Linked DNA regions of Homo sapiens: all the other regions are linked to region 3. The links are contacts of gene promoters, found by promoter capture Hi-C in blood cells and fetal thymus (Javierre and others, 2016). All regions are on one chromosome and are shown on one strand. The core of a region is centred on a gene start or on the middle of the fragment in contact, and the rest is flanking DNA. Distances in the headings are between cores, read along the strand shown. Region 1 holds the start of OR10Q1 (olfactory receptor family 10 subfamily Q member 1). Region 2 holds the start of OR10W1 (olfactory receptor family 10 subfamily W member 1). Region 3 holds the start of OR6Q1 (olfactory receptor family 6 subfamily Q member 1).

The links. The method cuts DNA at HindIII sites, captures the fragments that hold promoters and counts their contacts. A CHiCAGO score of 5 or more calls a contact.
Region 1: the fragment with the promoter of OR10Q1 here is called in contact with the fragment with the promoter of OR6Q1 in region 3 in 5 of 17 cell types (neutrophils, total CD8 T cells, non-activated CD4 T cells and 2 more); the score reaches 6.2 in neutrophils.
Region 2: a contact is called between the fragment with the promoter of OR10W1 here and the fragment with the promoter of OR6Q1 in region 3, in 7 of 17 cell types (neutrophils, naive B cells, non-activated CD4 T cells and 4 more). The highest score is 7.4, in neutrophils.

Annotation. Positions count from the first base shown.
Region 1 is chr11:58,227,602-58,230,372 of GRCh38, forward strand. It overlaps OR10Q1 (olfactory receptor family 10 subfamily Q member 1), which reads right to left and starts at 1,317. Exons shown (of 1, transcript NM_001004471.2): 1 at 281-1,317. The coding sequence starts at 1,274. The coding sequence ends at 315. The HindIII fragment of the contact is 6,807 bases long and covers 1-2,037 here.
Region 2 is chr11:58,266,766-58,269,542 of GRCh38, forward strand. OR10W1 (olfactory receptor family 10 subfamily W member 1) reads right to left here and starts at 1,495. Exons shown (of 1, transcript NM_207374.3): 1 at 27-1,495. The coding sequence starts at 1,093. The coding sequence ends at 176. The HindIII fragment of the contact is 7,272 bases long and covers 1-2,777 here.
Region 3 is chr11:58,029,538-58,032,237 of GRCh38, forward strand. It overlaps OR6Q1 (olfactory receptor family 6 subfamily Q member 1), which reads left to right and starts at 1,416. Exons shown (of 1, transcript NM_001005186.2): 1 at 1,416-2,369. The coding sequence starts at 1,416. The coding sequence ends at 2,369. All of the region lies in intron 1 of OR9Q1 (olfactory receptor family 9 subfamily Q member 1), which reads left to right. The HindIII fragment of the contact is 5,269 bases long and covers 1-2,700 here.

The DNA of each region.
Region 1 (2,771 bases), core at 67-2,566, 200 kb after region 3:
CAGGAGGCAGCATGCCTATCAGCCTTTATTCACAGTATGTATGGGGTGTTCCTAATATGGCAATTGACATAGGTGAGCTGCAAATCCTTAAAGTAGAGCTAAGTAAACTAGCATTCCTACGCTGTAAGTTCTGTCCAAATTTTCATATCTTAGTCAAAGCACTTCAGAAAAATGAGCATGAATTGTGAACTTGGGGCAAATATGGCAAAAAAGAAACATCAAGTGCACAGTGTGAGAAAGTACTACAGTTCTGTGTCATTTAGAGTTCTTTGACACAGCAACAGACAGACACCCAGCCCAGTGCCCCTAAGCCTTCAGTTGGCGTCAGAGGCTGCTTTACGGATAATGGCACTCCTCAGAGCACCTTTGACATCCTTGTTCCTAAGGCTGTAAAGCAAAGGGTTGAGTAAGGGGGTGACAAAGGTGTAGACCAACGCGATTTGGCTGTCCTCATCCTCTGAGGTGCTGGACCGAGGACGCAGGTACACGAGGCTGCAGCAGCCATACTGCAGCAGGACCACGGTGAGGTGGAAGGAGCAGGTGGAGAAGGCCCGGCGGCGGCCCTCGGCAGAACGGATGCTCAGGATGGCACAGGTGATGAACACGTAGGAGACGCAGATGAGCAGGAAGGGGATGGTCAGCACGAGGATGCTCACGACATAGAGGACAGCCTGGTGCACGCGGATGTCAGCGCAGGCCAGGCGCAGGACGGGAGGCACATCGCAGAGGAAGTGGTTGATTTCCTGGTGGTGGCCGCAAAAGGGCAGGGTGAAGATTAAGGCGGTGAGCTGCAGGGAGGGGAAGAGGGCCAGGCCCAGGGCCCCACCCAGCATCTGCGTGCACAGCTCGCGGGTCATGATGAGGGTGTAGTGCAGCGGGTGGCAGATAGCCACATAGCGGTCATAGGCCATGATCGCCAAGAGGAAACAGTCCGTGCTGCCGAGGGTGACAAAGAAGAACATTTGGGCCCCACATCCAGCCAACGAAATGGGCTTCTGGGCCCCCAAAATGTTGGAAAGCATCAAGGGTACTACCACGGTGGTGTAGCAGAGTTCCAGGAAAGACAGGTTGGACAGGAAGAAATACATCGGGGTGCGGAGGGTGCTGTGTGTGCACACCACCCAGATGATGGCTGTGTTGCCACAGAGGATCATCAAGTAGAGGAGGAGGAAGAGAAGGAAGAGAAGAACCTGGAATTCAGTGGCTGTGGTGAACGCACGGAACACAAACTCAGTGGGCTCAGACTGGTTGAAGACAAGTTTCCCCACAGGCATGTCTTATGCAAAAGAATAGGACGCGCTGAGCTCTTCTTGGCTGAGTTGCTTTATTTCTTTTTTTTCTTTTTGAGACGGAGTCTCGCTCTGTCGCCCAGGCTGGAGTGCAGTGGCGGGATCTCGGCTCACTGCAAGCTCCGCCTCCCGGGTTCACGCCATTCTCCTGCCTCAGCCTCCCAAGTAGCTGGGACTACAGGCGCCTGCCACTACGCCCGGCTAATTTTTTTGTATTTTTTTAAGTAGAGACCGGGTTTCACCGTTTTAGCCGGGATGGTCTCGATCTCCTGACCTCGTGATCCGCCCGCCTCGGCCTCCCAAAGTGCTGGGATTACAGGCGTGAGCCACCGCGCCCGGCCGCTTTATTTCTTTAGTAAAAGCAGGAGTGTACAATTTTATTTGGAATTAACTATTTAGTAGCTAGTTTCCAATCACGGTGCATGAGAATGAATTCACGATATAGGGTTTGGTATACTTTTCCTTGGAAATCCTCATGAATGGGATAGACAGTCATCTGCAGAAATTCCTGGGGGCAAGACATGTAGACACATGTAGATGTTCCTTGTGAAATATCTCCCCCCACCCCGATATTTTCAATCCAATTGATAAGACTTAATTATTTTGCTTGTATTTAATTACAGTGAAGAGTTGTATGGTTGCACATATTTTAAAATTAGATAAATGAATTTGTCTTTTACTTTTTTCAGTAAGCACTCTCATTGAAATATAACATACATGTGGAGGAATTCACAAATCCTAAGTGTGAAGCTTGATTTGTTTATTTATTTTAACATCGTAAATACGCCAGTATAACCACTACAAAGATTAAGAAATAGAACGATTCCAGTGACCTACAAACATCCTTCATGTTCTCAGTCTTTATGCTTCACAAAAGTAACCACTTTTTGACTTTTATCATTACAGATTGATGTAACTATGTTTCAACTTATATATGAAATGCTAAAGCATGTACTTTATTGTAACTGGCTTCAACATTATGTCTGCAAAGGTTATTCTTGTTGTTCTGAATCAATCCTTTGTTCTTTCCATTGCTTTATGGCTATAAGTTATTCACTTTACATTCAGTTATTTTGACTCCACATACAAGTAGGAAAACACCCATTGTTACAATCTTTTCTGATATGTACTCTTCATATATTTCCTCTCTTTTGAACATTTTATCTAAATTTCCAACAGGAAGCTAAACTTTTGGACTCAAATAGTTTCAAATGAAAGGGAAGTGAACAGAGTCAGGTTAAAATTAAAGTGGAGCTTCCTGAGATAAGAAAAGACAATGAGGAAACTAAAAATGCAATAGCACAATTGAATTATGCATTAACATAATCAAGAGAATAAGAAAGACCTTTGCAAGCATCTGGGAAGTTAAAAATACCTGTGAATTAAGCACTTTCAGGTTAGACTACAACTTTATTTTTAATACAAAAATTTAAGAGACAATACAAAATATCTACAGAATTTTAAGAAAAACAAATTGGAGTG
Region 2 (2,777 bases), core at 245-2,744, 240 kb after region 3:
TACAGAGTCAAATTGTAGAAATATTTAAAAATCTTTGGCACACATAAACAGTATCCATATAATTTATACCATCTTTTAGATGAGTTTTAACACCAAATGATAGAAATCTCAGTTTCATACAGATTTGGTGGGCTGGAACCAAATACTTGCCTGATAGGCTGTCCCCTCGTCTTTCCTAGCTGTTCTGGGAAAGGCAGTTCCTGGTAAGAACTCTCCCTACGGCCCCTTTCATCTCACTGTTCCTCAGGGCATAGATAAGTGGGTTGAGCAGTGGGGTTCCCAATGTGTACACCAGTGAGATGAACCGATCTTGCTTGGGGTTGTAGCTGGAGCTGGGGCACAGGTACATGAAGGCACAGCAGCCATACTGCAGCAGCACCACAGTGAGGTGGGAAGAGCAGGTGGAGAAGGCCCGGTGGCGGCCAGCAGCCGAGTGGATCTTGAGCAGAGCAGCCACTATGAAGGTGTAGGAGGTGGTGATGAGGAAGAAAGGCACAGCAATGGCTAGTATGGCTGCCACCAGCACTGACTGCTCATGAATGTGACTCTGAGCACAAACAACATGCATGACTGGTGGCACATCACAAAAGAAGTGCTCAATGCCCTGAGCCTGGCAGAATGGCAGAGAGAAGATGAAGGCCACCAGTTGTAAGGACAGGAACAGACCACTGATGACTGATGCCACAACCAAGTGGACACAAAGAGTCAATGTCATGAGGAGAGGGTACTGCAACGGGTGGCAAATGGCCACATAGCGGTCATAGGCCATGGCAGCCAAGAGGAAGCAATCAGCACTGCCCAGTGCAATGAAGAAAGCCATCTGGGTGGCACAGCCCAGGAGAGTGATGGTCTTCTCTGACTGTAGGGTGTTGGCCAGGATATGGGGCACCACCACTGCAGTGTAGCATATTTCAATCCCAGAAAGGCTGCCCAGGAAATAGTACATGGATGTGCATAGACAGGTTTCTGTGTGAATGGACACCACAATGAGAATGTTCCCAGTGATGATCAAACCATAAACCAGGCTGACCCCAAGGAAGGACAGAATATGCAGTTCTGGGCAGGAGGGATAGGCCAGGAACACAAATTCCATCAACACTGAGTGATTTTCCCAGGTAATTGAGCTAACAGTATTTCTCTGTGGAGAGCTACAAGTACAGAAGGAAGAATCAGACTGAAGATAAATTAAGTTACACTCTGAGCCATGAATCTAATGTAATCAGCACTGGAGTTAGAAACTGGAAGGATCAAGACTAGTTCTTTTTCTTTTCTCCACTTTTACCAAGTTTCTCCACATTAATATCTACACCTCAATTTCTACCTGCCAAGAGTTGGGCCAAACTATGTAAGATACTATTGAAGAAAAATGGCAGAGGAAGTGGGTGGGATTCAGGAGCTATTTTCAGAAAGAGTGGAATGAAAATTCAATTCTTTCAGCAAATTCACAAGAAAGTGTCAAGGAATTCTTGGGGCTAGAAATCATTAAGGTAAGGGAGATAAGCCATTTATTCATTCACTTATTCATTCACATATTTATTAGGTTGGTGCAAAAGTAGTTGCGGTTTTGCCATTTTGATGGCAAAAACTGCAATTACTTTTGCACCAACCTAATATTTACACTCAATATCTCCTGGGGTATTGAATAAGTGATATGTCAATGTAACTCTCAAAACTAGTGATGGGAAGTGAAGAAAGAAAAAAAATTACCCATGAAGCAAAGGGCTAACAGAGGCCTGAGTATGACAGTGTCAGGGATACGCCTCAGAAAGCAAAGCCCTGTCTACTATTGGTTTTTCTATCCTTATCTGACCAGAAGTATAAGGCTTGAAGGAAACAAGGTGTTTTATCATATGTTTCCTCCTGGCGTGGGTGGAGGTATGAGAAAATATGTGATCCCAAGATGTTGGAAATCTAAGAAGCCTTCCTGTGAATTTGGGCATGATTATGAAAGTCTAAGCCCATCTATTTTTCATATTTCTCAGAAGCTAATGTGAAATCTGGGAGAAGCCATATCTTTTCCACAAAAACCTTTTAATAAACAGACGTAATTTGCAAAGGGCATCCATTCCACTTCTTTTCCCAGACCAACTCATATTAAATAAGGTGGAAAAGACGTAATGTGTGGCCTTGTTTCAACGTGCCAAATTTTAATATTTCCTGTCATTGAATATGAGATTTGAAGAGAAATCTCTACCCAGAGGCACCACTTCCAGTAAAAATTATTCACACAAACCCACCTCAGTGTCACAAGCATGGGGAAAAATATGAGTAGGCAGCTACAAATATTAAGAGCACCTAGGGCAGAAATGGCTCTCTGCTGTTTTTCCAACAGCTAACAAGTGGTATCTATTTCAGTTGGTCTCTTTTCCTGAGCTGAACTTCAATAATGCTTTGAGTGGTTTCTAATGCCACTTAGCATATTGCACATTATACTATATCATGTGGAGGAGGGGCAGTGTATCAATGTGAAATCAGCAGTGAAGGGAAGTGATGTGGTTTGAATAATTCCAGCTCCTGGCTTCATGATGTTAGGTAATATATAATTTCTCTAAGCCTCAATTTCTGTATTTGAAAAATGGGAATAATAATTATACTTAGACAAAAGAATTGCTGTAAGTTTAAATGCAATAGTAATGTAAGATATCACAATGAACTGTCCATAGTAATGGCAACCTAATAAAAGATAATCATCATTATTATTTATAAATTCAAGGGCAGCCATTCTGCTTTATTTACATTTTGATCATCCCATATAAGCACGCCTAATGTTGTGCAAA
Region 3 (2,700 bases), core at 166-2,665:
GCACAAAAATGGAGATATTATATTTTCTCATTTAATTCTAAAATGAGATAGGAAGTAATCTCTTTGGAACTCTTGTATTATCTGTTTTTTAAAAAATGGGATTATTTAGTGATTCACTCATGGTCACATATTTCAAGTTGATATTGGAGCTTAAATTCAAACCCAGTGTGGATTCAAACCCAATTATGTTGATTCTATCTCTTAATAGTCATATTCAGTCTCCTACTGGCATTTCTGCAGTTAAAGTCACCATCACTCCATGCTATACTTGCAACAACCTCCTAACCCAGCCTTCCTGCCTCCTCCTTTTTTTTTTTTTTTTGACATTAAGTCTTGCTCTGTTGCCCAGGCTAGAGTGCAGTGGCATAATCTCAGCTCACTGCAACCTCTGCCTCCTGGATTCAAGTGATTCTCCTGCCTCAGCCTCTTGAGTAGCTGGGATTACAGGTGCCCACCACCACGCTGGGCTAACTTTTGTACTTTTAATAGAGACAGGGTTTCACAATGTTGGCCAGGCTGATCTTGAACACCCAACCTCAGGTGAGCTGCCTGCCTTAGACTCCCAAAGTGCTGGGATTACACATATGAGCCACCGGGCCCGGCCTCTGGCTCTTATCTTGTTCCCCTCCAAACCTGCCCCTTCTAAGGGGTAAAAAGAATAGCATTGCTTCTCTGCTTATAATTCTTAAAGTCTCCCTGTGACCTTTAGACTGAAGCTCAGCTTTTTCCTTTCCCTTAATTTGGTTGCTAGCCCTTCATGGTGTCCCAGCCTACTCCTCAGGCTCAGAAACAGTCATTTTCTCTCTGTATCTTATTCCAGGAGATGTCAACATGTAGATTTCCCCCTTGACATTTATTGACTCAAACATGATGCTAAGTGCTTTACAGGAATTATCTAACTTACATTTTCACAACAAATCTGTTAGGTTCTCTTTTATTTGAATCTAGGTATGCTTGCTTGGGAAATCAAGCTCTTGAACTCCATGGTAAACTGTCTCTACTTGAAGTTTCCCCAATGCACAATCTCCTCTCTGATGTCTGGAATTTTATACTTGTGATGTCTTCTCTCTATCTCTACCTTTTGTCTCACTAACTTATACTTCCTTTTCAGGTTCAGCTATAGACAGTCTTCCCTCCAGGAAGATTTCTCAAGACTGGTTGAGCTTCCCTGATATTTCTGCTCATAGTATCCTGCCTTATTCTTAGCCAGTGCATTTCATTTTGTACTAATATTATTTGTTTTCTCATGTCCCTCATGAACTGTGAATTCTTTGAGGGTAAGAACAGTGTGTTGACATCATGTTTCTCTTCTGAAGTGAAAGGCATTTTAGTACAACATCCTCCAACCTCACAGGTTCTCTTTGAGCTCTCATTGTCTATGAGGCTATGAGTTTGCTGAGCTCTCACTGCCACATATGCAACCATATACCAAAAACTGGACCCAGGTAACTGAATTTGTCATGATGGGCTTTGCTGGCATCCATGAAGCACACCTCCTCTTCTTCATACTCTTCCTCACCATGTACCTGTTCACCTTGGTGGAGAATTTGGCCATCATTTTAGTGGTGGGTTTGGACCACCGACTACGGAGACCCATGTATTTCTTCCTGACACACTTGTCCTGCCTTGAAATCTGGTACACTTCTGTTACAGTGCCCAAGATGCTGGCTGGTTTTATTGGGGTGGATGGTGGCAAGAATATCTCTTATGCTGATTGCCTATCCCAGCTCTTCATCTTCACCTTTCTTGGGGCAACTGAGTGTTTCCTACTGGCTGCCATGGCCTATGATCGTTATGTGGCCATTTGTATGCCTCTCCACTATGGGGCTTTTGTGTCCTGGGGCACCTGCATCCGTCTGGCAGCTGCCTGTTGGCTGGTAGGTTTCCTCACACCCATCTTGCCAATCTACCTCTTGTCTCAGCTAACATTTTATGGCCCAAATGTCATTGACCATTTCTCCTGTGATGCCTCACCCTTGCTAGCCTTGTCGTGCTCAGATGTCACTTGGAAGGAGACTGTGGATTTCCTGGTGTCTCTGGCTGTGCTACTGGCCTCCTCTATGGTCATTGCTGTGTCCTATGGCAACATCGTCTGGACACTGCTGCACATCCGCTCAGCTGCTGAGCGCTGGAAGGCCTTCTCTACCTGTGCAGCTCACCTGACTGTGGTGAGCCTCTTCTATGGCACTCTTTTCTTTATGTATGTCCAGACCAAGGTGACCTCCTCCATCAACTTCAACAAGGTGGTATCTGTCTTCTACTCTGTTGTCACGCCCATGCTCAATCCTCTCATCTACAGTCTTAGGAACAAGGAAGTGAAGGGAGCTCTGGGTCGAGTCTTTTCTCTCAACTTTTGGAAGGGACAGTGAGGAGGCAGGTGGGAACCCAGTTTCCTTGCCTTGGATATTTAAAAACAGGTTAGTCAATAACATTTAAGCTGAGACCAAATCAAGAATGCAGTTCCATTTATAACAGCCACAAAAAATACAATACCTAGGAATACAACTAACCAAGGAAGTGAAAGATATTTATAAGGGGAACCACAAAACACTGCTAAAAGAAATCAGAGATGACACAAACAAATGAAAAAACATCCCATGCTCACAGATTGGAAGAATCAATATCATTAAAATGGTCACACTGCCCAAAGCAATCCGCAGATTCAATGCTATTCCTATCAAACTATCAATGTCATTTTTC